Regions from separate parts of the Homo sapiens genome. Here regions 1, 2, 3, 4, 5 and 7 are each linked to region 6. The links are contacts of gene promoters, found by promoter capture Hi-C in blood cells and fetal thymus (Javierre and others, 2016). All regions are on one chromosome and are shown on one strand. The core of a region is centred on a gene start or on the middle of the fragment in contact, and the rest is flanking DNA. Distances in the headings are between cores, read along the strand shown. Region 1 holds the start of NAP1L2 (nucleosome assembly protein 1 like 2). Region 2 overlaps JPX (JPX transcript, XIST activator). Region 3 holds the start of LOC105373244 (a long non-coding RNA gene). Region 4 holds the start of CHIC1 (cysteine rich hydrophobic domain 1). Region 5 holds the start of SNX12 (sorting nexin 12). Region 6 holds the start of PIN4 (peptidylprolyl cis/trans isomerase, NIMA-interacting 4). Region 7 holds the start of CXorf65 (chromosome X open reading frame 65).

What was found. The method cuts DNA at HindIII sites, captures the fragments that hold promoters and counts their contacts. A CHiCAGO score of 5 or more calls a contact.
Region 1: a fragment that was not itself captured here is called in contact with the fragment with the promoter of PIN4 in region 6 in 1 of 17 cell types (naive CD8 T cells); the score reaches 6.6 in naive CD8 T cells.
Region 2: a contact is called between a fragment that was not itself captured here and the fragment with the promoter of PIN4 in region 6, in 2 of 17 cell types (total B cells and monocytes). The highest score is 7.5, in total B cells.
Region 3: a fragment that was not itself captured here is called in contact with the fragment with the promoter of PIN4 in region 6 in 2 of 17 cell types (fetal thymus and total B cells); the score reaches 6.9 in fetal thymus.
Region 4: the fragment with the promoter of CHIC1 here is called in contact with the fragment with the promoter of PIN4 in region 6 in 4 of 17 cell types (fetal thymus, total B cells, naive CD8 T cells and 1 more); the score reaches 12.5 in fetal thymus.
Region 5: a contact is called between the fragment with the promoter of SNX12 here and the fragment with the promoter of PIN4 in region 6, in 2 of 17 cell types (non-activated CD4 T cells and total CD8 T cells). The highest score is 5.6, in non-activated CD4 T cells.
Region 7: the fragment with the promoter of CXorf65 here is called in contact with the fragment with the promoter of PIN4 in region 6 in 1 of 17 cell types (total CD8 T cells); the score reaches 5.4 in total CD8 T cells.

What each region holds. Positions count from the first base shown.
Region 1 is chrX:73,212,235-73,216,121 of GRCh38, forward strand. NAP1L2 (nucleosome assembly protein 1 like 2) reads right to left here and starts at 2,617. Exons shown (of 1, transcript NM_021963.4): 1 at 65-2,617. The coding sequence starts at 2,258. The coding sequence ends at 876. The HindIII fragment of the contact is 474 bases long and covers 1,432-1,905 here.
Region 2 is chrX:73,946,916-73,950,973 of GRCh38, forward strand. The region is part of intron 2 of JPX (JPX transcript, XIST activator); the gene reads left to right. Among named protein-coding and RNA genes, the nearest start is that of JPX, 4.6 kb to the left of the region's middle. The HindIII fragment of the contact is 9,783 bases long and covers 1-4,058 here.
Region 3 is chrX:70,432,825-70,436,548 of GRCh38, forward strand. GDPD2 (glycerophosphodiester phosphodiesterase domain containing 2) reads left to right here. Exons shown (of 16, transcript NM_017711.4): 15 at 88-116; 16 at 210-557. The coding sequence ends at 262. It overlaps LOC105373244 (a long non-coding RNA gene), which reads right to left and starts at 2,469. Exons shown (of 3, transcript NR_171576.1): 1 at 1,855-2,469; 2 at 1,031-1,424. RefSeq lists enhancers at 1,418-1,527, 2,388-2,487, 2,508-2,587, 2,575-3,075 and a silencer at 1,678-1,927. The HindIII fragment of the contact is 2,778 bases long and covers 71-2,848 here.
Region 4 is chrX:73,561,666-73,565,632 of GRCh38, forward strand. CHIC1 (cysteine rich hydrophobic domain 1) reads left to right here and starts at 1,532. Exons shown (of 6, transcript NM_001039840.4): 1 at 1,532-1,915. The coding sequence starts at 1,620. It also overlaps the pseudogene MAP2K4P1. RefSeq lists a silencer at 1,452-1,511. The HindIII fragment of the contact is 6,151 bases long and covers 1-2,626 here.
Region 5 is chrX:71,066,384-71,070,128 of GRCh38, forward strand. It overlaps SNX12 (sorting nexin 12), which reads right to left and starts at 1,951. Exons shown (of 4, transcript NM_013346.4): 1 at 1,759-1,951. The coding sequence starts at 1,923. RefSeq lists silencers at 1,914-2,107, 1,947-2,166. The HindIII fragment of the contact is 9,631 bases long and covers 1-3,745 here.
Region 6 is chrX:72,180,417-72,184,482 of GRCh38, forward strand. It overlaps PIN4 (peptidylprolyl cis/trans isomerase, NIMA-interacting 4), which reads left to right and starts at 1,341. Exons shown (of 4, transcript NM_006223.4): 1 at 1,341-1,412. The coding sequence starts at 1,370. RefSeq lists an enhancer at 1,381-1,600. The HindIII fragment of the contact is 4,711 bases long and covers 1-1,359 here.
Region 7 is chrX:71,104,413-71,108,000 of GRCh38, forward strand. It overlaps CXorf65 (chromosome X open reading frame 65), which reads right to left and starts at 2,328. Exons shown (of 6, transcript NM_001025265.3): 1 at 2,120-2,328; 2 at 1,928-2,014; 3 at 1,588-1,725; 4 at 357-425. The coding sequence starts at 2,144. It overlaps IL2RG (interleukin 2 receptor subunit gamma), which reads right to left. Exons shown (of 8, transcript NM_000206.3): 8 at 2,992-3,509. The coding sequence ends at 3,324. The HindIII fragment of the contact is 6,290 bases long and covers 1-3,588 here.

The DNA of each region.
Region 1 (3,887 bases), core at 419-2,918, 1.0 Mb after region 6:
TTTTCAGTATTGCCCAAATGTCCCCCAATGAACATATTACTTTTATAACAAGAAATACATTAAGTTTTAAACATGAGACACTCTGAAATTTTTATTCTTTTTATTTTGCAGTGAAAGAACACGAAATATCTTTTCAAAATGGTAAAGTGATCACTTTCAATGAATGATGTAATAGGAAAAGAGAATTAAACACTGTAATTATGGCTTACACAATTACACAGAACAATATGTGCAAACTTTTGAAAATACTGTGACTAACACTTCACCGACAAACAATAACCTCAATATAACTAAGTTTCATTATTTATCACAGTTACATAAAATACAAGAGCCTATGAACAAGCTGTTATTAACAATAAATGTAGTTTTGCCTGAAATTCTTATCTATATGCAGGCCTCTTAAGCATCCAAGTTTTAAATTCTACTGCATTGTTATTGCAAAATGAAGCAGGCACAACAAAATTAAATCCACTAGCTAAAGGACTAAGTAAACAAAAATAGAAAAAGAAAAACAACAACAGCGAAAACCCTTGGGTTGTTTCCCAAGATTTTTTTTCCAAACAAATATTGATCTCACTTAGCATTTCTGATCATTTCATAGCCACAGATTAATAGCTACATGACAAAAAGACTTCAGAAGGATTAAGCTACACAACACTATACTAGTGTTTTAAATCATTTACCACAGTGTACATTTCTTGAAAACATTCTACTACTAAAACTCAAGGTCAAATTAATTAGTTTTTGAACTTTTCTTATATTTTTGAAACATATGTTTTAACTAACACTACAAGAAAAATACAGAACACAAGGCTTCTTATACCTTGAGTAACTATATCTAGGGCAGTTAATTTCAGGGCCATGTATACTCTGCTCTAACGATCAATGTCTTCTACTAATGCCTCAAGGTTTTTGCAACAAGCTTTAACTTCCTCAATTGCAGCCATCCAATTATCATAAATAATTTTGTCATAAATTGCATCATTAACTTCTCTAACTACCCCCTCCTGCTGAGATTCCAGTGCATCACCTGAGAAAAATAATACTGATCTTGGAATTATGTAAGTACGTAAATTGTGACCAAGTAAAAAATCATCATTTCCATCCCTTCCATTTGAGGTGATTCCATGAGGAGAGAAAAAATTGAAAAATGAATCCTTGGGAAAATCTTCAGTTACAGTTCGGATTGTTCCCCAGATCCGATGTTTCTGTTTCTTCTTGATGGTTTTCAAAGTGACATTCTTTCCTTCATTCCAATCTATCTCACAGCCTGTGGAATACTCAATCGCAGTTCCCCTATAGGGATGGGGATCATAATATGCTAGCTTTGACTTCAGCACATAGGTCTTTGTCAACAACTCATTTTTGAAATATTCATTGGGTTTGAAGTGAAATTCTAGTGTGAAACTGAGGGGCTCGCCAGGATCTGAAAGCTTAACTTTAATATCTGTCAGGAGCTTCAGAATAGGCTCATCATATTTCTTAATCAAAGGAGTGAGTGTATCAACGTTTTTTAAAACAGTTAGCCAAAAATCAGGAATTCCCTTAGGATCCTCCTCTTCTTTATTCTCTTCTCCAGTAGCCTCAATGTCGTCCTCCTCCTCCTCCTCCTCCTCCTCTTCCACAGCATAATCATAATAATAGTCCTCATAACCATCGTCCTCATCCACATATTCATGTACCATACCCTCCTCATTACCATACATCTCTTCATGACACATTTCCTCATCATCACAGTCCTCAGAGTCTGATTTATATTCACATTCCTCTTCTGTAGGTTCATAGATTGCATTGATGATCTGACGTCTTTTTTCCAGTAAGGGTTGGTACATTTCAGCAAACTTTCTTTCAATGTCATGAAATTCCCTCAGGAATTTGGATTCTAAATTGGCCGCTCTAGTTTGAAGCTTTTTAAGGGCTAACACACGGTACTTAACTTTCACAGGTAGACTTTCAACAAAGTCTGTATCTAAAACATAACCGATAAGTCCTTTTGGACGGTCTGCCTCTGAGTCCTCATCAGTATCGCCACCTTTTTTCCCATCTTCCCCGGACCCAGCAGCAGTATCTTCACCGTTTTCCCCTTCTTCCCCAAGCCCAGCGGCAGCTTCTTCACCGCACTTCCCATCGTCTCCAAGCCCAGCAGCGGCATCTTCACCGCGCTCCAGATGTTCCCCGAGCCCTTCCACCATTATCTGATTACCAGCCTCTTCTTGACTGGATTCTGACAGCTCCTTGCGGTTCTCTGACTCGGCCATTTTTCAAAGGACCGTACACGCCTAAGGTGGCTACCACAGAGATCGGGAGACCAAACCTCCACAGGAAAAGACTCACCGAAATATCAGAAGCGGCGGTGGTCGGACCTAGCAGTGGCGTCCGGACTGAGGGAACGACGATCCAGGCTGCTCGGGGATAAAAGATGGTGCTGAGGCTTTGAGAACCGGACTGAAGCAGTGGCGACCTGGGCTGGGTGCAGAGGGCGGCGACGGCTGCGTTGACCGATCCTGCAGGAGAGAGCCGGAGACTGCAGAGAGCTGCAGTGGGCAGACCTCCTCCGCAAGCAGCTACTGCTGCAAGAAAAAAACGGTGCCGCAGTATGATTACGCAGCTATCACTTGCCTAAAATTTCTAGGTGCAAATAGATTGCTGCGTCACCTCCTTCCCTCCCACAACTATGCTCTAATCTCATTTGCTGCAATGTAGTGACTGACAAACCCAGAGCCAGTAAATTATTAGATCTATCAAGTTTTCAACTCTGCTCACCTTCCCAGGCTCTCTAACATGGCTGATTCATCCACCTCCTCCTCGTCCTCTAGCCCATCTCCCGCAGAGTTTTCTGGAATCCCATTGCGTTCATTAGTTCATTCATCCAACTTTTAACAGATATTATACTTTTATGCTTTCCAGAGAGCTCAGAGAAAACGTAACTAAAATGTCGAACAATGAGAGAAGACAAGGCACCCACCCATCCTAAATCAATCTCTTTGATTTTAGATCGGGGACCTGGGGAGGGGAGAGGTGGATGGTGGAAGAGCTGATAAACAAACGCTTCAAAGATTAAAAACACCAGGAATTAGCACTGATGGTCTTTAGGTGGCGTGTCAGTTATTTAAATATTCTATATTATGTTTGTCGGTATTTTTCACAAGCTATATGATTTTAGGTTGAAAAATTCTCGAAACATTTCCTGTGAGGGGAGGAGGAGGAAGTCCGATGGCAGTGGGGGCGAATGAGGGCCTGTGATGAAAAACTAGTATGGTGTATACAACTACGTGACTAGTAAACATACCAGACAATTAACCACAATTAACCAGTTGCCTGGCTTATAAATAACCCCAGTCCCAATACTGACTTTCTGCTTCTCCTTCTTAATGCTGGCTTTAACAGCCGTTAGAAATATACATATATACAAAAGCCAAAATGGAAAGTTATGTTTATTCTTAGAAATCATAACATTTGCTTGATGCTTTTGAGTTAATTGGAAATAATCTAAATCTCAGCATTAAAGAAATGGTTAAACTATTTGATAATGTATTTATAGGATGGAAAGCTTTGCAGTAATTAAAATTTCCTCTCTATAGTAATTATTGGTGAGGTTTATTTTGTTCATATTTCTAACTTGGATCATTTATTAATTGAACAATTTTTTAAAATTTTAAGTGACTATTATTTTCCAGATTTAAAGAATTTGTTACTATCACAGATATTAAAACTGTTTACATATTGTTGTATTTATTTCTAAATTCTGTCAGTTTATAGATAAATTTTTCCTTTAAGTGAAAATACCAGATACAAAAGAACAAATATTGTATGATTCTACTTTAATTAGGTATCTAGAGCAGTCAAATTCACAGAGACAGAAAGTAGAAACATGGTTTTCAGAGGCT
Region 2 (4,058 bases), core at 1,370-3,869, 1.8 Mb after region 6:
AAACAGTGGTTAGAACATTAATAATTTTATTTTATTTATGTTTTATTTATTTTTTGAGACGGATTTTTGCTCTTGTTGCCCAGGTTGGAGTGCAATGGCGCGATCTCGGCTGACTGCAACCTCCACCTCCTGGATTCAAGCTATTCTCCTGCCTCAGCCTGCCGAGTAGCTGGGATTACAGGCATGTGCCACCGCACCCAGCTAATTTTGTATTTTTTAGTAGAGATGGGGTTTCTCCATGTTGGTCAGGCTGGTCTTGAACTCCTGACCTCAGGTGATCCGCCCACCTCAGCCTCCCAAAGTGCTGGGATTACAGGCGTGAGCCACCGCGCCCGGCCAGAACATTAGTTTTAAACTTCCTAACCCTTGGGAGAAGGCAAAACACTTGATGAAATCTACATAAAGACTAAAACATTTTACCAATTTTGCATTGTTTGTTTGAAATTGCATTGACGACTGGTATGTTAATTTTGTATATATTTTTATGAGAACAATGTTGGACATCATTTAATTTTTTTAGGTTTTTTTAATTGATTATTGATTGGTTCATTTGCAGGAACTGACTATTAGTAATCAAGGATACAAATTGTTAAGAGAATATGTTACAGAGAAAAACTTGACAAGCTAGACTTAGATTTTTGTCGTTAAAGATAATTTGTGGGATATGATTTTTATAAGGAGTTGCATTAAATAGAATGTCTTACACAGATTTAAGAGGTTAATAATTATAAAATTAAGATGAGTTCTTATAAAATATTCTTGAGGTATAATAAAATTATACTTGTGGAGTATATCTTTGAATAACATTTAAAAGCAAACTAATACTTTCCAGGTAAAATAATTATCAACATAACTTTTTAAAAATAATTCATAGTACTTCAGGTTATTTCTATGTTTGACACATTAACTTAAAAGAAAAAAGGAAAATGGTGATTAGTTAATGCCATACACACTGGACAGAAAAGAAACTTAGCTCTTATGGATTCCTCTCCATATTTTGCAGCAGGGTAAATGTAAGTTTTCTTACGTAGCTAGATACTGTGTTCCAGTGCTGTTGATGTTGTACTGTTTTAGCAATGAAGAGATTGATATGGGCTGATTGGGGGTTAGGGAAAGTGAAGCAGCAGAACCAGAACAGAGTGGACATTTAAAGGGTGCTAATAAGTAAATAATTATGTGAAGTAGCATACTGGTCGAAATGCATAACTCAAAGATAATCGGGAAGCGTATTTTCTTTTCTTTTCTTTTTTTTTTTTGAGATGGAGTCTCGCTCTGTCGCCCAGGCTGGAGTGCAGTGGCACGATCTTGGTTCACTGTAAGCTCCGCCTCCCAGGTTCACGCCATTCTCCTGCCTCAGCCTCCCAAGTAGCTGGGACTACAGGCGCCTGCCACCATGCCCAGCTAATTTTTTTGTATTTTTAGTAGAGACGGGGTTTTACCGTGTTAGCCAGGATGGTCTCGACCTCCTGACCTCGTGATCTGCCCGCCTCGGCCTCCCAAAGTGCTGGGATTACAGGCTTGAGCCACCGCGCCCGGCCGGGAAGCATGTTTTCTGAAACATAACCTAAGAAAGTATAAATGCTGCCTTGTGCCTACAATCCTGGTGACAAGAGCAAGACTTCGTCTCAAAAAAAAAAAAAAGTATAAAAGCTCCTTAAAGGATGTTTCAAAATAATGAATAATATTAATTTCTATATTGTATATTCACAAATGTTCTTTCTAGAATAATTATTTGCTTAATGGGGTGCATGTTTAGTTGGTGAGAAATGAATTAATAGGTTAGTGATTTATTATCTGTTGGGAAAAATTTTAGACATTCACATGAAAGTAGAGAGAATAACATAAATGAATTTCCATATATGGATCACTTAGATTTAGCAACCGTTATGATTTTGCCTTACTTGCCTTTTCCCCCAAAATACTGTAAAGTAAATTACAGTTATCATGACATTTTCTTCTAAATAAGTCAATATAAACATATAATAAACAAGGACCTTTTTCTATATAGTCACAATGCCATCACTATACATAGTAGGATTAACAGTAATTCCGTAATTTTTTTTTTGTTTTTGAGATGAAGTCTTGCTCTTGTCACCCAGGCTGGAGTGCAATGGTGTGATCTCGGCTCACTGCAACCTCGACCTCCCGGGTTCAAGTGATTCTCCTGCCTCAGCCTCCCGAGTAGCTGGGATTACAGGGGCCTGCCACCATGCCCGGCTAATTTTTGTATTTTTGGTAGAGATGGGGTTTCACCATGTTAGCCAGGCTGGTCTGGAACTCCTAATCTCAGGTGATCCGTCTGCCTCGGCCTCCCAAAGTGCTGGGATTACAGGCGTGAGCCACCGCGCCCGGCCATTCCTTAATGTTTAACACCCAGTGCATATTCAGATTTTCCCAGTTGTCCGCAGGATGTCTTTTATAGCTGCTTTCTTCAAACCAGGATCTATTCGGAGACCACACATTGCATTTGATTTTTATGTCTTTTGAGCCTTTTAAAATTTAGAGCAGTTCCCTATAACCCCTTCTTTTGTTTGTTTTATGAAATTGGCTTGTTGAACTTCACAAAACACGAGTTGGGGTCATGCCAACTGTACCGTTAGTGATTAGTTTACATATAGGGAAAATAATTTGTGAATGTTGGTCCATTCACTCTGCCAGCTATACCATGGCAGCATTTCCAGTATCAGGAAAGCAAACCAGGGGATCTAAAACTGAGCATTAAAAACTCTCCCCTATCCAGTGAAAGAGATAAGAATGCCAGTTGTGAGAAAATTGAAGGGGAAACGGAGAATGTCAGTGTTAAAGATATTTGAACTTTTTTTTTTTATCCATTTGAAAGGTATTTTTTTTGGGTGAACTATTTGTTAATATTCTTGGTCCTGTAAAAAAAAAATTGGTGTTTGGACTTTTTCTTATTGTAGACACTCTTCATAAATTAAGGAAATTCGCCTTTTTTTGTTATAATATTGCAGACTTTTTTTTTTTTTGAGATGGAGTCTTGCTCTGTCGCCAGGCTGGAGTGCAGTGGCACGATCTTGGCTCACTGCAACCTCCGCCTCCCAGGTTCAAGCGATTCTCCTGCCTCAGCCTCCCGCGTAGCTGGGACTACAGGCGTGTGGCACCATGCCCAGCTAATTTTTGTATTTTTAGTAGAGATGGGGTTTTACCATGTTGGCCAGGATGGTCTCGATCTCTTGACCTTTTGATCCGCCCGCCTTGGCCTCCGAAAGTGGTGGGATTACAGGCATGAGCCACTGCACCCGGCCTGCAGATATTTTTTTCAGTTAGCTACTTTTCTTTTCACTTTATAGTATTTTTTTACTTAATTGTGGCACAATACACATTAGTGTTTTAGCCATTTTAAAGTATACAATTTAGTGGCATTTCATACATTCACAGTGTTGTGCATCCATCACTGCTGTCTAGTTCCAACAGATTTTAATCACTTCTAAAAGAAACCCTGTACTCATTCCCTTTGCCCTCTATCCCATGGCTACTAATTTGCTTTCTGTTTATGGATTTGCCTGTTCTGAATATTGTATACAAGTGGGATCATATATAGTAGACCCTTGAGGAATGGGGGGGTTAGGGTCACCAACCCCTCATACAGTCAAATCTGCATAAAATTTTTAATTCCACCAAAACTTAACTAATAGCCTACTGTTGACTGGAAGCCTTACCAATAACATAGTCAATTAACACATACTTTCTATGGTAATTTATTATCTACTATATTCTTGCAATTAGCTAGAGAAGAAAATGTTATTAAAAATCAGAAGGAAGAGAGAGTATATTTACGATTCATTAAATGTAAGTGGATCATCATGAAGGTCTTCATCCTTTTTGTCTTCATGTTGAGTAGGCTGAGGAAGAGGAGGGGTTGGTCTTGCTGTCTAGGGAGTGGTAGAGGTGGAAAAGATGGAGGAGGCAGGAGAGGCAGACATACCTGGTGTAACTTTTACTGAAAAAAAATACATAAAAGTGGACCCACGCAGTTCAAAACCATGTTCAGGGGTCAACTGTAATATGTGATCTCTTGTGTCTGACTTCTTTCATTT
Region 3 (3,724 bases), core at 210-2,709, 1.7 Mb before region 6:
AAGGCAGTTGGGGGGAGCAGGTGTGGGGGCTGGAAGGGCCTGCTTGAAGCTAGCTGAACTCATAATGGGAAGCTTTTCTCCCCACAGAAGATTTGTTAAGAAGAGAGGGAAAACTGGTAAGAACTTTCTCCCCTCACCTCATGTTTCTCCTCCTGTAGCTTTCCCCTTGCTTAACTCCCTAGATGACCCACCCTCCCCCTCCTCCCCAGGCTTAGAAACAGCAGTGCTGCTGACAAGGATCAACAATTTCATGATGGAGTGAATGCCCTGCCCTGCTTCCCCACCCAAGCCAGTCTACATTGCCCAAACAGCAAGGGTTGGAGAGTGGCTTAAGTGGAATGCTTCAGGGGTGGTGGGTTGCAAGTGGGGGGAGCTTTGCCAACAGGAGGTTTTGAACCATGAGGGCCCTCTGCCCAGGTGATGGGCATTCCCTAAGCTGCTATGGAATCTGCTCCCTTTGGGGTTTTGACCTGAGATGTTTGGGAAGAGAGTGAGTAATGAGAAGTTTCTCCTCAAATGAAACTAGAACAGAGGAAGTAAAAGGGAGATTGCTCGGATAATGTCTCAGACTTGTGTGCACGTGTTCTTGCATAGAAGGCACAGGGTGTGTCGGGGTGGGATAGCTTGGAAGAGGGACTGAAGGAGATAACGAAATGGTCTTTTCCGGAGAACTGTAAGATGATAGAGACACCATCGCCACTCCACGATGTACTGTCTTCCTCGACCCTTGCAGCTTAGCTGTTTTCCTGCCTAGAGGCTAGGAGCTGAAGAGCCCGTCTAGCCGTGTAATTCTGTGCTTACAGGTGGCTTTTTGCTGTGCGCAGCCTTTTCTTCAAGGCAGGTTGGTTCCTGTATCTTGTCTTAATCTGTTACTCAACGAATGTAATCTCCATTTGGTCACAGCCTAATCTTTTCGGCCCAGGGGCTGGGGAAAGGAGGCACCTTCCATCTACGGTTGGATGGGACACGACCTTGAGGGGCCATCAGGGGGAGATGGGAGGAGGTGGGTTGGAGGTGGGAGGAGAATCACCTGCGGCAATGAAGGACTCGCGGGAGGCTCGCGGGAGGCCCGCAGGAGAGCAGCCACCTCGGGGGCGTCCGGAGGCCGGGCGCGCGGTGCAGGGTTGCACTGTAGCTCCACCTTGTGGCCGCCCCAAGAGGAGGGCCGCATCCGTCGTCGCCGTGACGTATTTGCTGAATGCCACCTGTTTTCCGTGCCGCTTGGGGACTCGTGTCCTTGACTCAGGACTCCGAGGGCAAGGTCCGATTTCCACAAGTTTTCGCTCCTCTGGGCTGCGCGCAGGGTCCAATTTCCGGCCCAGCCTTCCCTTGGAGGAGCAAGTTCCCCAATGTGTTTGCGGCTCGGGAGTCCCTGGGCTCCGCAGCTAAGGTGGCCAGTGCGGAGCTGACGGAGGATGAAGAGTCTAGTAGAAGAAGGGAGGGGCTAAGCCAAAAATGGGGACAAGAGGGGCTCTGTGGTGACCCCACAGTCTTCCGCCACACCCACATTCGACCTAGTTCGTATCTCCACACGGAGGGAAGTAGAACTAAGGAGTCGGCCAGGTAGGGAGGTCGGGTTCTCGGTTCCTCCTCTCTCGCCAGACTGGGACCTGGGGCAGCACTGGCATCCTCGGGACAAGACCCGCCCCCCACCCTCGGTTGCCGGGCAGCCGCGGGAACTACAATTCCCAGTGAGTCCCCGGCCATTTCCGGTATCTGGCTGGACGCAGGCGAGTTTGAATCCGTGTTCCCGCCCCCTTCTCCCGGGCCCACCCCTTTCCTTTCTGGCCGCCCCGCCCTCTCCGTGCGCATCCCTGCACACTCCGGCTCCGGAGGCCGGCCGCGCCCACGTACCTGACCTGCAGCTGGCGCGGTGGGCGGGGGTGCCAGCATGCGACGCACGGGGAGGCTGGAGGCGCGCGGAGAGCGAACGCCGCAATCCGGTCCTGGTCCTGGTCTTCCTGGGAGTCCACGCCGCTGTGTACCGGGCAGGTCTCTCCTACACTCTGCCTTTTCGAGCAGCATTTCCTTACTTTTCCTGGTTCCCGATCCATCCCCTCTCTTTCAGGCTGGCTACCAGCCTTAGCTCTAGGGCCCCCAGTCTGCCCGGTACTGCCGGGCTGTCACCTCTCAGCACGTACCTCCTCCCCCATCCCTACTTTTCTGTCCCTTCCCAATCGCCCAGTCTCTTCCTCCCCTCACCTCCCAACCTCACCCTGAAGACCTCCAGCAACTCCATCCCTGCAGCCCCAACCTCTCAGCTCTCACACTCTCAGCTGCGGCCCTCTAAACCCAGCGTCTGGCCCCCCAACCCAGCGCCAGCCTCTGACCCCTTTCTCCTAGCCCCTAGCCTTGGGTACGCAGCCTTGAGCCTGCCACCGGAAATCCTCACTCTCTTCCCAGGAGAACTGGACAGCTAAAGCGGTTTAACCTATAGGCCCTGGGCCCTGGGCTGGAGACTGACACTGACAAAAACTTAAGGGCGGAGGACCCGGGGGAGCTGCTCATTGGGGTTCGGATGTAGTTGCTCTTCGTTATTTTTAGCTGCTGACTCACAGCTCCTGGCATCCGGGTTTGGGGCTAGCAGGCTGGGCTAGGGGGCTATTAATAGAGCAGGAGCACAGCCCCGACCCAGTTCAGTTTGGAAACACAGAGAGCAAGAAGCGTCCCCTGCCACTATGCCCTGTGGAGATGTGGACTGAGCAGTGGCTGGGCCAGATGCTGTCTGGATGCTAGTTACCTCACCCTGGTATCTCTACCTTGGAACTCTTGAGGGAAACCCCACGAGGAGACTCCTGGGCACAGCTCTCCCCTAAGCTCGCCATGGCTTGGGGCTCTGCCACAATCAAGCTTCTGTTGTACTAGCCGAGAAGGCAGAGATGCGTCCCAAGTGGAAAGATTGTTTTGGTCATGGCCTTGGCCTGCCTGGACCCACTCCTGGGCCAGAATGCTAGGTTACTAGAAGGAAAAGCTATGGATTTCTGGTCCCCCACAGCCTTCATAAGGATGGAGTGCTTCAGCATGGTCCTAACACAGGGGGCACAGAGCTGGGGATCCCCAAACCAGACACAGAGCTCAGAAGCTGCCAGATTCTGTGCTTATCACACCCCCAACCCCGCCATTCTTTTTATTTCTTTCCATTTTGTTGAGCTCTGTCCCAACTCACAGGGATTTACAGACCTCATGATCTCTCCCTTGTCTGGAGAGAAACCGTATTCATGAAAGCCACTGCTTGTCCCCAATGAGGTATGAATGATCCTTTATATATTGTCATTCCCATTGACCTTTTTATTTTAATGGGCTAACGTAAGAGTTTCCTAATGTATACATTGGGAATCGTGAGGAAATCTTGATGGACTGATCAAAATTATTCCCACGCAAGCTCAATTTTCTAGAATTCCCATTGACTAAGGGTGCACACCCACAACAATGCTCCTCCCCTCCTTGCAAATCAGAAACTTCCACCTTCATCGACCCGAGTCTCCAGCCCCCAGATGAAACCACATTTGGGGCAAGAGTGATCGTTTCACCACGCACAATATGGAGGTCACTCAGTGAAGCTCTATTTTCAAGAATGAGCCCAGCTTATCAGACAGACAGCAGCAGACCGCGCGGTCCCAACCCCGTCTACTTGCTGAAGGAGCCGGAGTGGCGGTGGAAGGGGAGATAAATGGTCTCTCTGCTTGAAAATCCGTTCCTGAAGTCCTCCATCGCCTGGTTGCCT
Region 4 (3,967 bases), core at 282-2,781, 1.4 Mb after region 6:
ATTTTTAAAGTTCCCTAAATAAACCAACTTTTGAATAAAAATGGGCTTTTCATTTTAATAACACATACTCCTTGATGATAATGGTTTGATTCATTTCTCTTACAGAACTAATTTCTTCCTACTTCACACACATTAAATGCTTTGTTTATACTGATAATGTCGTGCTCATCCTAAATTAAAGTTTGACTATGTCTGTTTCCCCAGAGACACACCATCTGATTGGGATGCAGCCGTAGAGTAGCAGAAAGAGCAGTGAAGCTGGTATTAGAATGCCTGGATTACAGTGTTTGTTCTGTTACTTAGCAGCTGTGTGACTTTACTGTCTTAATGATATGGATTTTTGTGCTGCTGCCAAGTATGAAACAGTTTGGCACACTATTTAGATACGCAAAATATGTGATCCCCACAACATTTTAGTGAGTGTAAAGAAGATAGGATAGACCATTTAAAATGGAAAATTTTGAACAAAAGGTCACCATAGACTTGAATAAATTACTTAAACTTCTGAGACCCACTTTTGTCATGTAATAAAATAGATATAATGATACTTACCTCTCAGGATTAAGGGTTAACTGAAATATTGTATGTGAGGGTCTAGCTCAGTGTCTGGAAAATGGATGATGTTAATTAAGGTTTCCTTAGGTTGGAATGCTCCTTTCACCCCCTCCATCCGCCCCCTCCCCCAAAAAACACTCCAAAATTCAAACATGCATATTCTGATTCATCTTTTAAGGAAGAGCCCAAGAGGCACCATTCTACAAAATCTTTCCAAACAACTTCAGGCAGTACAGCCCTTTGGTTAAGAGTACTGGGCTTCTGGAATCAGAAGAGACCACCAAATTTAAAACCAGGTCTCCCATTTAGTAGCTCCCTGACACTGGACAAATTACTTATTTTCTCTGCACCTAGATTTCCCATCTGTAATATAAAATCATCATGATACATACCTCATAGGGTTGCAGAGGATTAAATGAGATATACATACAGAGCACTTAGCACAGTCCCTGAGTTAATAAGTCCTCCGTTAAGTATTACATAGGAGAAGTAGTAAAAAGTTTCCTCTTAAGTAAAATGCTAATAAAAGTGCTTACCCTGCCTCCCAAGATTGTGGCAAAGTTATGACGCAAGGCTTTTAAACTGTAATGCTGAACAAACGTAAGGGATTGGTATATACCTTGAGATATTTTGGACAAAGTTCTAACCTTACTTTTATACAATATGCTTTCTCTCACCCGCCTGCAGTTGGGTTAATAATGCCCAGCATTAATTAATAAGCAATAAAATCAGAAGATACCCCGAATACAAGTAGCTGACGCTCAGAGAGCAGTATTAAGGCGAGCACCCGCAGACCGGACCTGGATAACTCCTTGGAGTTCACCTCTAGCGGCCCCCTCCCCTTGGAGCTGCGCAAGCGTACACTGACTTTGCTCCTCTCTAGTGCCCCCGCCTCCAGCAGCCGCCCCCCCACCCCCCCGTCTGCCCAACACGCAGGCGCGTCTCCTCAAATCCTGTCCCTACACCCCTCCTCTTTCTCTTCATTTCGTTCCCCCTCCTCTTGCAGCACCTCGGCAGGTTCAAACTCTTCTCCGGGAGCGTGGCGGCGATCGCGAGGTCACGTGATGAGCATCCTGCTGCCCAACATGGCGGAGTTCGACACCATCTCGGAACTGGAGGAGGAGGAGGAAGAAGAAGCGGCAACGTCGTCGTCGTCGCCGTCGTCGTCGTCGTCGGTATCTGGGCCCGACGATGACGAGGAGGATGAGGAGGAAGAGGAGGAAGAGGAGGAGGAGGAAGAAGAGGAGGAGGAGGAAGAGGAGGAGGAAGCGCCGCCCCCGCCTCGGGTAGTGAGCGAGGAGCATCTGCGGAGATATGCTCCCGACCCTGTATTAGTGCGGGGTGCCGGCCACATCACTGTGTAAGCGAGAGGGGGTCTTGGGACTTGAAATGCCTGAGATTTGGCAACAGAGGAATGAGAAGTGATCGAGGGGCCTGTGGAGTGGGGGAGGGTTGACTGATTGACTGAGGCGTACACTTAGGAAAGGACACCTGGTCTAAATGGGGAAACCATGGGTGGATACGTGTGAAGGAAGTGAGGAGAATGTAAATATGATGCACCAATGCCAGGTAAAGAGTGAGTATAGGAGAGGGAAGTTAGGGGTTTGGGAGCCAGAGCGATTGGAGTAGGGGTGAGTCTCCTTTCTTGTATGTATGCTGGCAAGTGAACAGTCTCTAAACTGCAGGATGTACCAGAGGGTTTTTTGCTGACAAGATTGATACTTTGTGGGAAACAGCAATTGCTGTGACATGTGACAAGAACTAGGCTTGCATTCTTCAAAACAGAAACATGATATATTTTGTGAATAATAATAGAATGTTCATTCACCCACGTATTCATCCATCCATTCTTCCTATCGAATCCTTCCTTATATATCACTCGATTAGAGGTTCAGGATGAGAGGCAGCTATGGAAAGTAGAAAAAGAAATGGATTGAGTCAGGGCTCTTAGACGCTGGTCCCGGTTTTGCTTCTTACTGGCCCTGTGACCTTGGTCAGGTTGCTTTTTCTCATTTCTGCGCCTTGATTTCTTCATCTCTAAAATGAAGGGTTTGGAGTAGATGGTTTCTAAAGCTTTTCAGTTCTGAGATAATTTACCTCCAAGGGATTTTGTATGCCCAAGTATGAAATATACAGGCATTAAATATATATGGAAATTAATACTTTGGGAGCTGAGCATAATTTCTTTAAAATTTATCCAGGGTGGTTTTTTAAAAAATTGAAATCTTGAGGAAAAATTGAATATTTCAGAAAATAAAATGGGGAGGGACTTCATAACAGCTACAAGGCAAAAATGTTGATGATTCTCCGGGATTTAAAGAGTGCTTCCTCATTTTTATTTGCTTGGACCATAACTATTTGGAAGTTTGAGTACTGTGTCATGTTCATCCTCTGAACTATGCTATCTTTTACTGCATTTTCAAAATAGGTTGCCTTTTGTTGTTATGTCATGCTGCCTCTGGTTTTGATAATGGCTCACCTAGTCCCTTTGACTTTCAATTGAGTTCATGTTACATTAAATCATATATATGCTACCTCCCTTATATTAGCTTCAATTTTTAACATGTTGAGTTTTTTTTTTTTTTTTTTTTTTTGAGACAGAGTCTCACTCTTTTGCCCAGGCTGGAGTGCAGTGGCGCAATCTTGGCTCACTGCAGCCTCTGCCTCCCAGGTTCAAGCAATTCTCCTGCCTCAGCCTCCTGAGTAGCTGGGACTACAGGCGTGATATGTTGAGTATTTTAATTGTAATATACTTTCGTAATCTTTGCATCAAATATATTAACAAATATTTTGAAATTGGGGAAGTGTTGGGGGAGGGTTTTAGAGCTGCTTTTTGATTAGGAAATTTTAAGACAATTTTTCTTGGTCCAAGAATTTTGCAGATAGCCTACAATATTCAGATGCCAACTTATTGCACGGTTTTACTTCCATTCCTTTTGTCACTAGGGAGACAATTTATTACTCAAACTAATTATGATGGCTGGTACCAAAGGTTACTTTTATGCAGATTATGTTACATGACCGTTTAGTCCATAATTTTATACTCCAACATTCCACCTCCACATTTGCAAAATTCAGGCAAAGGAGAAGGAACAAGAAAATAAAATTTAAGTTACCTGAAATTTATTTATGGTTCCATTCGACCCTGCACAGGTACTTACCAACCTATTTGCTTCATTAGAAGAACACTGACACTTGCCATGCCCAGGCCCTTCTGATTGGTATAATGTCCTTCTAATTAGGAGCATGCGGGTAGTACTGTTGGTATTCATTGACTGAAACCAAAACCTGAAAAGAAGCAAACCAGTACTAGACTCACTAACCATTGTATATACTTTGGAAACTTATTTAGTTTTGTTGTACACATTCTTATACCTAGAAATCACATATGATATTAAATGTCTTGGGATTT
Region 5 (3,745 bases), core at 701-3,200, 1.1 Mb before region 6:
GTTCAAGACCAGCCTGGCCAACATGGCGAAACCCCGTCTCTATTAAAAATACAAAAATTAGCCAGGCATGGTGGCATGTGCCTGTAATCCCAGCTACTCGGGAGGATGAGGCAGGAGAATTGCTTGAACCCAGGAGGCGGAGGTTGCAGCGAGCCGAGATTGCACCATTGCACGGCAGCCTGGGCAATAGAACGAGACTCCATCTCTTAAAAAAAAAAAAAAAAAAAAAAGAATACCCTGAGTAAAGAGCGATTTCATTCAGAATCCCTAAGACTCTTGGGTAATGCATTGAATGTCTCCAAAACCCCACAGCAGACAGCCCTTATGCTGTACTAGTCATGCCCAAGCTCCCTCAGGTAACTAAGTTCTCCAGCACTGACAATTTCCTGCTTTTATCATATTCTGAAGGACCTAAATTCCATTCTCCCCCAAAGACATGATTTCACATAGTTCTTATATAGACAAGTGTTTCTCATGTTTTGCTATTCACTTTTCTTTCTTCAGTTTGGACTTTGCCAAACTTGGAATCTGGAAATCATAATTTCTCAATAAGATTTCAAAGCCCAAGTAGGAGACCACAATTTCTCATTCAATTCACTCCTTCAACAATGAAAGCACATACACTCTTTTAGTTCTTCAATGCTGTTTGAGCAGGATGCTGTCCACAGAGAATATTCTGGCCTTTTAGTCTGAGAAGAAAACATAAGGAAAACTAGAAAATGATTCTCAAACTGTTTTGCCTATAACCACTTCAAGTGGGCAAAAGATCCTGCAAACCAAGTACTCTATCTGCACATTCCATCCTTGCATTATGGGCTAAGCACTAGAGAGTAAAGTCCTCTATCATGCATGCTGGAAGAAGCCACTCCTGGGCAATTCTGAAATGTCATGTATTAAAGTAACTACAGACCAGGGTCAGAATCCAAAAGGGTAATCTAGGACAGAAAGGGCAAAAAGCCATTCATATACAAAGTACCTAAACGAGAGTCAATAAATACTGAAATAAACATTCTGGATACTTCAAATCTAAAGGATCCACATAGAATGAAAGCAGTGACTGACAAGGCACCAATCCCAGGGCCAGGCCAGGTTTCAAGGCGAGACAGCACGTAGTATCTGCGAAAACTTAAGCATAAAACATTTCTCTCCTTCAGATGCTGATCCGACACAAGTTAGGAAAGCGCTCGGTCTCAAGGAGACTCCCTTTCTTATTTCTGCTCCCACAAGCCTACTGTCTGCCTTTTCTGGAATCTACCTTCCCTTTAATTCAAGGCTTTGCTTTACTCCATTATCCCAGGGAGACCTCATTAGAAAGCAGCCGGCCTTCCTGCCCTCCCTCTTCAGACTTCTCACAACCTAGTTTAGTTATGGAGCTCAGCGATATATCGCCTTGGCTTTCCATCCCCCAGCCCTCTTCCATCCTCCCTCCCTTCCTTCAGTCGCTACAGCCGTGATTCCTATCTCCTTGAATTCCTCACTCTAATCTTTTTCCATCCACCCCACCCTATCCAGCCATGCTTCACTTCCTCATGGGTAGCTTTCCTGCATCCCCGTCCGATGTCTCCCTCAGGAGTTTTCTGCATCCTCCGGCCACAACTGAATCGGCAGACCTCGTTCCAAGCCTATTATACCCCTAACCCCCAAATGACCCCTAAGGCGTCTTCCCCGCCGTTAGTTGCCCCCGCGGTAGCCTCCCTCCCCCCTCCCGCTCGCGCCGCCCGGTCCTCCCTCAGCTGTCTCCCTCACCCCGTGACTCACCCGCATGCGAACCTCATAGGTGGTGAAGCGCGCGCGTCCCACGCCCACCGTCTGAGGATTAAAGATGTCGATCTCCAGGAAGTTACTTGGCGGCCCGTAAGCGTCGGTCAGGTCCTGCGGCTTCGAGTTAAGGCGCCGGGTATCAGCTACTGCCGTGTCCGACATCTTTCCGAAGGAGAGCCTGGGACCGGGGAAAGGGGGTGGGGGACAGAGGCCTGAGGCAGGAGCGCGCACGGCCCCTCCCGCTTGCAAAATAACTAGCCAACCCACAGGCGGCGGCGGCGCGCACGCGCGCCCACGCACGCACGCGCACGCCGCACGGGCCTGGGCCCCGGGCTCTGAATAGCGGCCGTGCTGACTGCTGCGCGCCCTGTAGAGTGGAGGCCATATTCAGGCTTCCGGGTGATGTTTGTGGCCACCCGGGAACCTGCATCCCCAATACGCAGTACCCAATACCCTGCCTAGCAGCACAGGCTGGCTCCGCCAATCGCGGCTCCTCAACCCAAGAAATTGTCTCGTACCGTGTATCAATCAACAGTGGGCACTGCCCCGTGAGCCAGGCTCCTACAGTGATAGGCCGAAGCCCAGTGACCTGAATAAGTCCTGGTTTTCCGCGAAAATAGAAGGGTGGTCTATGGAGGGTGGGGTTCCAACAATAGTACTGAGAACCTATAACGTAGCCGTCCCACCTGTGCCACTGATGGTTTCAGTTCACGCCACACACAATGGCGCACTCAGCACTACGTATGGCGCCAGGAAAGCAGCAAGCAACTAGGATGGGGTAAAGAAAGACATTTCTCTCTTACTTTTCAGGAAAATTGGGCATATCTTACTCCTTGTTGCCACACTCCAGGTGTACTCAATCTTACATTTATCAGCAAATTGAGGGTACTTATTTCATACCTTCTATTTCTACTCCGCAGAACTCCATACTTGGCACTGCTCTGAGGTTGCTTGCAACCCATAATGGAGATAGAATAAATGTTTACATGAGAATATCTATAGAAATATTAATATTTATATGACTAATTTACATATGCTCCACATTAAAGGGTAGACTGGGTGATGATTTCAGGTCATCCTTTCTCCACCTTTCCCCTGCCCTCCTCTACTCAAAAAATATTTCCCATATCACTGATGCCTGAAATTCTTTCAACAGAGTATGAGGCCCTACAATTTCACAATTGCTGTTTAATTCAATTTAACCAATATCCACTAAGCAAATACGTGCCAAGCACCATGCTAAACACTAAAATCCTGGAGTTAAATAAGAGTCCCTGCCCTCAAGGAGTTAACATTCTAGCAAGGGAGACAAGTAAACAAAACTAATATAATGCGACAAATACAAAATAAGTAAATGTTCAAAGCAGCACATAGGAAATGTATAACTGGAAAAATTAGGGGAGGTTCCCCTGGAGGAGGAAACATCTGAGTTTAACAGACATGAAAAGACATAAAGGACAAATAGGAGTGGAAATAGGGAAAGGTAATTTCTGGAATAAGAAACAGCATATGCAGGCCGGGCGCGGTGGCTCACACCTGTAATCCCAGCACTTTGGGAGGCCGAGGCAGGCAGATCACTTGAGGTCAAGAGTTCGAGATCAGCCTGGCCAACATGGTGAAACCCTGTCTCTATTAAAAATACAAAAATTAGCTGGGCATGGTGGCACACGCCTGTAATCCCAGCTACTCAGGAGGCTGAGGCAGGAGAATCGCTTGAACCCGGGAGGCAGAGGTTGCAGTGAGCTGAGATCATGCCACTGCACTCCATCCTGGGCAACAGAGCAAGACTCCATCAAAAAAAGAAAGAAAGAAAAGGAAAAGAAAAGAGAGAGAGAGAGAGAGCGAAAGAAAGAAAGAATACACAAAGTCCTTGCGATAAGAAACAGTGGAGCATTTTTAGGCATTTATCGCCAATTCAGACTGTGTGATGGAAGTGTTTAGAAAGGTAGACTGGCTAGGGATGGGCAGACAAAGGATGATCCGC
Region 6 (4,066 bases), core at 91-2,590:
GCTGGAAGACCTCTATATTCTGGCTGGTAGTGGCAAGCTAGGACAGCTCTCTCATGGACTGGAGGAAACGCCCTGACATATCATATACAAATTATTGATGGTGGGAGGGATTGTAAGGGGAGAAAAAGTGTGTGGGCACAAATTCAAAAATCATTTATCTTAGGCAAACATTATTAATATGAGCAAGCCATCATTTTATGTGCTTTACAGATATGAACTTGTTTAATTCTCTTAACACCTGATAGGATAATAGTAGGTACTATTATCATCAACTCCATTTCACAGATGATGAAACTGAGCCAAAGAGAGGTGAAGTAACTTCCTCAAGGTCATGGAGCTAGTAGACAGATGTGGAGCAGGGATTTGAAACTGGGCAATCTGGCTCCAGAATCCATGCTTTTACTACACTATGCTGCACCATTATGGAAATTTTGGAAAATACACAGAAACAAACACGATGACCTGTATGCACTAGCACCACTGGCCACATCTTGCTCTATAGCTTTCCTCTCCTTTATATTCATATAACATACAATACATTACATATACTTCTTTTACAAGGAATCATATTCTTTATCTTGGTCTTAAAAACATTTCCCCTATCTGTACACACAGCCTTACAATCGTTATTTTGAATGTTGTATAATATCTTCTTGTGTGGCTAAAACATTATTTAAGCAGTACCCGACTGAGGAGCACTCAGACTGCTTCCAATGTTTCTCCATGACTGAGCTCTGCAAGACGCAAAAAGGTGACAGGCTTTTTTAAAAACTACCTTTTGAACCTAATTAGCTACAACTGCAGAATAAAATTAACAAACGAAAAACTGCCAGGGAGGGCAGCCCTGTGTGTAGGAGGAGACAGCGGAAGTTGGCCGCCACCACAGTACTCCTGCTTCCCTTTGTCTGGCGGCCCCGCGGGATTGGCCAGAGCTGGCGCCGAGGGACTGCAGAGCCACCCACCCCCGTGGCTCCTACTGCGCACGCGTGAAAAAAGCCAGGTTGAGGGGAACGGGGGAGCTTCGGGCGTAGAGTGTGGGGAGTGGGGGATCTGGTGCAAATTAGGGTGCGTGAAAGAAGTCACAAAAAGCGCAGAGGCCAGGCTTCCCGCCCTAATCCGGCCTTTGTCTCCGCCCCTCTGCCTTTGTTTCGGCCCAAGCGTCTTATTGGTCAGACATCTTCAGCCCCATTGGTCCAAGAGCCAAAGGACGGGGTCTGCCCCAAGCTGTGCCTGCTTCCGGAGCCGCAATAAGAACGGTCAATTGAGATGCGGCTTTCAGGCATTTGTTTAGGACATGCCCATGGCGGGGCTTCTAAAGGGGCTTGTACGGCAACTGGAGCGGTTCAGCGTTCAACAACAAGCTTCCAAGATGCCGCCCAAAGGAAAAAGTGGTTCTGGAAAAGCGGGGAAAGGTAGAGCGGCCAGAGCGATCAAGGAGAATGGGGGCGGGTGAGGAGCGAAGGGAGGGAACAGACAGTCCATCTCCGGAGTCCGGGACGGACGCAGCAGGTAGCCAGTGGCCCCACAGTGCTGCCATCGATTACATCTGTAGGAATACATTGGGCTACGGTTCAGGGACCGTCCTAGTGGGTAATGGAATCTGATGGGGATAGTTCCTCGGAGGCGATGACTTAGGGCTGCTATTTCAAGGGGTTATTAGAGCTCTAAAATTGGGTCTTATCAAAAGCCAGCAATAGGAAGTACACATTGGTTATGGTCCTTAAAGTTCACTTTAATGCTTACAGAATGACATGCCCACCATCGGGGAAGGAATCATTCATCCATTGAACAGAAATGTGTCAGGCAGAGTGCTAAGCGCTGAGGATACACAAATAAGACAGAAGGCTGGGCGCGGTGGCTCACGCCTATAATCCCAGCACTTTGGGAGGCCGAGGGAGGATGGATCACGAGGTCAGGAGTTCGAGACCAGCTTGGCCAACATGGCGAAACCCCGTCTCTACTAAAAATACAAAAATTCGCCAGGCGTGGTGGTGGTGCGCGCCCGTAATCCCAGCTACTCGGGAGGCTGAGGCAGGAGAATCGCTTGAACTCGGGAGGCAGAGGTTGCAATGAACCGAGATCGCGCCACTGCACTCCAGCCTGGGCGACAGAGCGAGCCTCTGTCTCAAAAAAAAAAAAGAGATTTTGGCCTTAAGGAGCTCCCGAAGTAGTGAGGAAGATAAAGGCTTAGTGATCATAAAGCACTGTACTAAATGTAGTGTTGAGGGATGTGTATGGGATATAATAGAAATTGAGGGAAGTCCTTCATTTAGCTGGGGAACAGGGAACGGAAGACTTCCTGGAGATGAATTAGGCAGGTCAAGATGTGCATTGAGGGTAGGTTAAAGCATTCCTTACTTGGGGTCCAGCAGCAAAAGCACTGAGGTGAGAAACAGCATGATGTGTGCAGCGTAGTGTTGCTGGAGCAAAAACTCAAGGCAGAATGGCAAGTGGTGAGAATGAAAACAGAAACAAAGACGAGATCATGGAGAGTGCTATATATTCTGCTAAGAAGGACAGTTAAGGATCAGAAAGACCTGTAAGGAGATTGTTGTGGTAGTCTTGGTGAGAGATGATGGTGGACTGACCTAAGGGAGTGGCTGTGGGAACTGAGAAAAGAGAAAAGATTCTGTAAATATTAGGATGTGAAATAGTCAAGACTTGGTGATTTATTGGGTTGGGGAGGGGTGGTGAGGGAGGATCAACGATCATTCTGTTTTCTGGATTGGATTTCTAACCTGTTGCTGGTCCTGCAGGGTAACATCAAGGATACATGAGGAGCGGGGATGAGATTGATGAATTCACTTTCAGATAGATTGGCTTTGAGGTGTCTGTGGGACATCTCAGTGGAGATGTAGTCAGGAAGTGGTTGGATATTTGAGTCTAAAGTTTGAGGGAGAGGTCTAGACTGTACATGTAAGTTTTAGGAGTCGCTAACTTATAGATGGTAGTTGAGCCCATTAGAGTGTATGCAATTATCCATGGAGAGTTTATAGAATGAAAAGAGCAGAGAGCAGAGGATGTGATCCTAGGACAGGCAGAGAAAGAGGCAGACAGATAGAGGGAGTGCAGAATGGTGGCCAGAGGCTGGAGAGACCAGAATGTTTTAAAGAGAGAGGGTATAGTCTATCAAGAACAGCAGATTTGGAAATTAGAGGTGGCCTTGGGTAAAAGTGGTTTCAGTGAAACAGAAGCCAGATTACCGTGACTAGAGAACTGACTGGGAAGTGGTAATTTGGACTTCTTGGAAAGTTTTAATTGAAAAGCATGGAAATGGGATGGTAGATAGAGAAGGACAGAGGATTAAGAGAAAGTTTTATTTTCTTTGCTTCTTTGGAATGGGGAAAACTTGGGAGTGAAGCTGAAGGATCCAGTAAAGTAAAAGAGGTAAAGGTACAGAAGAGTGAGATTTAGGAGAAAATGGAATCCAGGACCTAGGGGGAGCAGGGACACCTTATGCTTGAGGTCATAGGAAAGGAGATGGAGGGGCAGGGACTCAGTAGGCATCTTGAGGAGAGTGGTAAAGGTCTGGAATATCGTAATGGAAGAGGGAATGAAACACAAAAGAAGTGCCTTCAGGGCTAGGAGCCTGACTAAGATCAAAGGCCATGAATTTGTAGACTACATAATCTTCACAGTCTGATTTACCTAGTACTATGCAATTGGCACAATATAGGATTGAAAAGAGCTAGGTGCAGCCTTAAGCCATGGTTGAGGTTTTGTTAGGCAGTTATGATAGGAGGATAGCAACACCAGGGAATTACAAGGGCCAGTGGGAATGCAGTTCAGATGAAGGAACATGGGGTCCAGAGTGGGAAGGGAAAAAGAAGTCTGGTGGCCTAGGTGAATGTAGCAGGACGAAGGGACTGGGGTCAAGGGAGAGGTTCTGTGAAGTTAAAGAGCAAGTATTGTGGGAATGAGACATGAGGAAGCTGGAAGAACAGGAGGTTATAGCCAGAGACTGAACTAGTTCTGAGTGGCACAGTTCCATCGTGTGCCCCCGGGGCAGGTAGCTTGGAGTAGAGAGCATGACATTCGGGAAAGAGACCTAGAACTGAGATTCCCC
Region 7 (3,588 bases), core at 1,078-3,577, 1.1 Mb before region 6:
AAGGAAAAGGCACCTGCACCTCTGAGAACTAGAGACCTTACCCTTCCTGATGCTCCCATTCATTGTTCAAACCATCAGCTGGAGCCCCACTTGGCCTAAGATGGAAATGATGGAATGGTGACAGGGAGATATACGGAGAAGATGGCCAAGAAATGGGGGAAGTGGGGAGTAACGCATGCACATTCCACCTGGTGTGAGCTAAACGTCCCTCCTAAAGTGGACCTGGACCCTGCCCGCCTTTTCCTAGGCTCCTATCATCTGACCTACCATATCACGCTAGTCCCACCCTACATTCTCCATCACACAGCTATATACTGTACCCTTCATGTTCTTCCCTCCCCCATCTCACTTCTTACCAAGCAGCCAAGGCTCCGGATTCTTGAGGAGAGGCACAAAAGCTCTGTAAGCATTCTCCAGCCTGGTTCCTGTGAACATAGCCATGTGCTATCTCCAGCCCCTGTCATCCAGTCTCCACCCTTCAGAAGTCCAAGATTCCAGGACCTAACACTAAAGACTACCCGCCAGATGCGGTGGCTCACGCCTGTAATCCCAGCATTTTGGGAGGCCAAGGTGGGCGGATCACTTGAGGTCAGGAGTTCCAGACTAGCCTGGCCAATTCGAGACTAGCCTGGCCAATTTGGTGAAACCCCATCTCTACCAAAAATACAAACAAACAAAAAAAATTAGCTGGGCATGGTGGTGGGCGCCTGTAATCCCAGCTACTCCGGAGGCTGAGGCAGGAGAATCACTTGAACCCAGGAGGCAGAGGTTGCAGTGAGCCAAGATCATGCCACTGTTTCAGCCTGGGTGACAGAGCAAGACTCCATCACAAAAAATAAAATAAATAAATAAATAAAAATAAAGACTACCTTGCCGGGCACAGTGGCTCACGCCTGTAATCCCAGCACTTTGGGAGGCTGAGGTGGGTGGATCACCTGAGGTCAGGAGTTCAAGACCAGCTTGGCCAACATGGTGAAACCCCATCTGCACTAAAAAATTAGTTGGGCCTGGTGGCGGGTGCCTGTAGTCCCAGCTACTCAGGAGGCTAAGACAGGAGAATCGCTTGAACCTGGGAGGCAGAGGTTGCAGTGAGCTGAGATCGCGCCATTGCACTCCAGCCTGGACAACTGGACAACAAGAGCGAAACTCTGTCCCAAAAAAAAAAAAAAAAAAACCTACCTTGAGCTGGTGGATATTTCTTCCCCTTAGGTATGGACCTAGGGGAGAGTATGTGTGAGGTAACCTATTATTATAGAGGCAGTACCCTTCCTTAGGCTGACTAGAGATGGTCAATTTGGATCTGGTTGAGGGTGTTCTGTTGTTTGAGGGTGTTCTGTTTTTTGTTTTAATTTGGTTTTGGTTGTTTTTGGTTTTGGTTTTGGTTTTGGAGGCAGGCTCTTGTTATGTTGCCCAGGCTGGTCTCAAACTCCTGCCCTCTATCGATTCTCCCGCCTTGGCCTCTCAAAGTGCTGAGATTACAAGCATGAGCCACTATGCCCAGCCTTGGATGCCTTGTTTTAAAGATAAGGTTCATAATCTATCTTGAAGGCCTTATTCTATTTCTGGGGAACACTCCTGAGCCTCTACCTGGTGGCCCACGTTCCACCTTACAAACGTAGTAGGTGCTTCGAGCTGTAAGGTATTTGCTGGCATACTCTGCATGATTGGGCTTCATCAGGAAAAGCATCTTCATTTTCCCCGTTTGTTCACACAAATCGATGGTGTCTGGAGGGAGATCACAGGGTAATTGGGGCAGCTAAGGAAAGAGAGTGGGAGCAAAAGGGGCCAGTGATCCTATACAAAATGGGTTGGAGGAAGCTCTAAGGATATGAGGAACTCCCTTCTTGCCAGGAGGAGGGCTTGGGGGTTAGAGATGACCCAACTCCTTCTGACCTTTGGCCATTAGTCCCCTCCCTAAGCTCCTCACTTGTTTTAGGCAACTTTACTTTACTGCGGATGTAATACAGCAACACGACGACAGCACAGTTGGTATTGACCAGAAACTGCTGATTATCTGAGAAGAGATAGGATGGGACACATGGGCCCATTTCTGTGATCTCCACTGCCCTCAGATCCCTCCACCCCCATCCACAGACTCTAGTTCTGTGCTGCCCCTCACCTCCATGTTTGATGAAGATGAACATGCCCTCAAGATCGCCTCACTCTTCACAAAGTGCCCTGATGAGTCATGCAGAAGGAGGGTGTTCTAGAGGCCTTGTGTGGGGCAAATAGGCCTATAGGGTTGGTGGACTAGAGAGGCAGATGGATTTCATAGGCTGAGGATGCCCAGGCTGGACAGGCAGGAGAGAGCTGTTGATAGTTGTGGATAACCAGTATCCCCAGGGGTGGGGCCTGAGACTGCAGTTAAGGGATTATGAGGTCAGAAGTGGCAGGTGTGGCCAAAAAGTGGAGTAAGGGTAAGGAGAGAAAAACTTGGGTGGGGTATGTTAAAGATTAGTTGGAAAGGGGGGACAACATGGTAAGTCTAACTTTTTTTATTTTTTTTATTTTTTTAGATGGAGTCTCCCTCTGTCGCCCAGGCTGGAGTGCAGTGGCACAATCTTGGCTCACTGCATCCTCTACCTCCTGGGTTCAAGCGATTCTCCTGCCTCAGCCTCCCAAGTAGCTGGAATTACAGGAGCACACCATCACGCCTGGCTAATTTTTGTATTTTTAGTAGAGACGGGGTTTCACCATGTTGGCCAGGCTGGTCTCGATCTCCTGACCTCGTGATCCACCCGCTTTGGCCTCCCAAAGTGCTGGGATTACAGGCGTGAGCCACCACGCCCAGCCCATTGTAAGTCTAACTCTAAACTAAACCCTGGAATGAGTGCAGGGCACCTGGAAAAAAGTCAGTTTCCAGAACAGTACTCTTTCTAGCAAATTGGTAATACTCCTGCCTCCACAGCATGAATGTACTACTCCTTTTTCTTCCCCTCCCACCCTCATTGCATCCCAGGCTTCCCCTGCTCCCCACCCCCATGACAGACATTTTTGATGATTATCAACAGAAACTTTATTTCTCATCGGTTCAGGAACAATCGGAGGGTAGATGGAAAGAGGAAGGGAGGGAAAGAGGGAGGGAGGAAGAATCCTGCGAAAAGGAAGGGCCAGACTGAGGGAGAAGAAAAACATGTTCGGGGCAAAAGGGTAATTCTCAAGTGGGGAATGCCAAATGAAGGGGTGCTTACATGGGGGCACAAAATTCCAAATCAGCCACAGTGGGGTGAGGTGAGTATGAGACGCAGGTGGGTTGAATGAAGGAAAGTTAGTACCACTTAGGGCTACAGGACCCTGGGGTTCTTCTGTCAGAGGATTGGGGTTCAGGTTTCAGGCTTTAGGGTGTAACATGGGGGGGCCCAGTAGGGGCTATGCTGGTTGCATGGGGAGGCCCCAGGCCCCTCCCCAAGGGCCCCTCCTTTTGGGGGAATCTCACTGACGAGGCAGAGTCGTTCACTGTAGTCTGGCTGCAGACTCTCAGCCAGTCCCTTAGACACACCACTCCAGGCCTAAAGACAGATATGTCCAGGTCAGGGGTCAATTAGGGGCAGGAAGTAAAAGACCGAGCTCTGTGCCAAAGGAGTACTC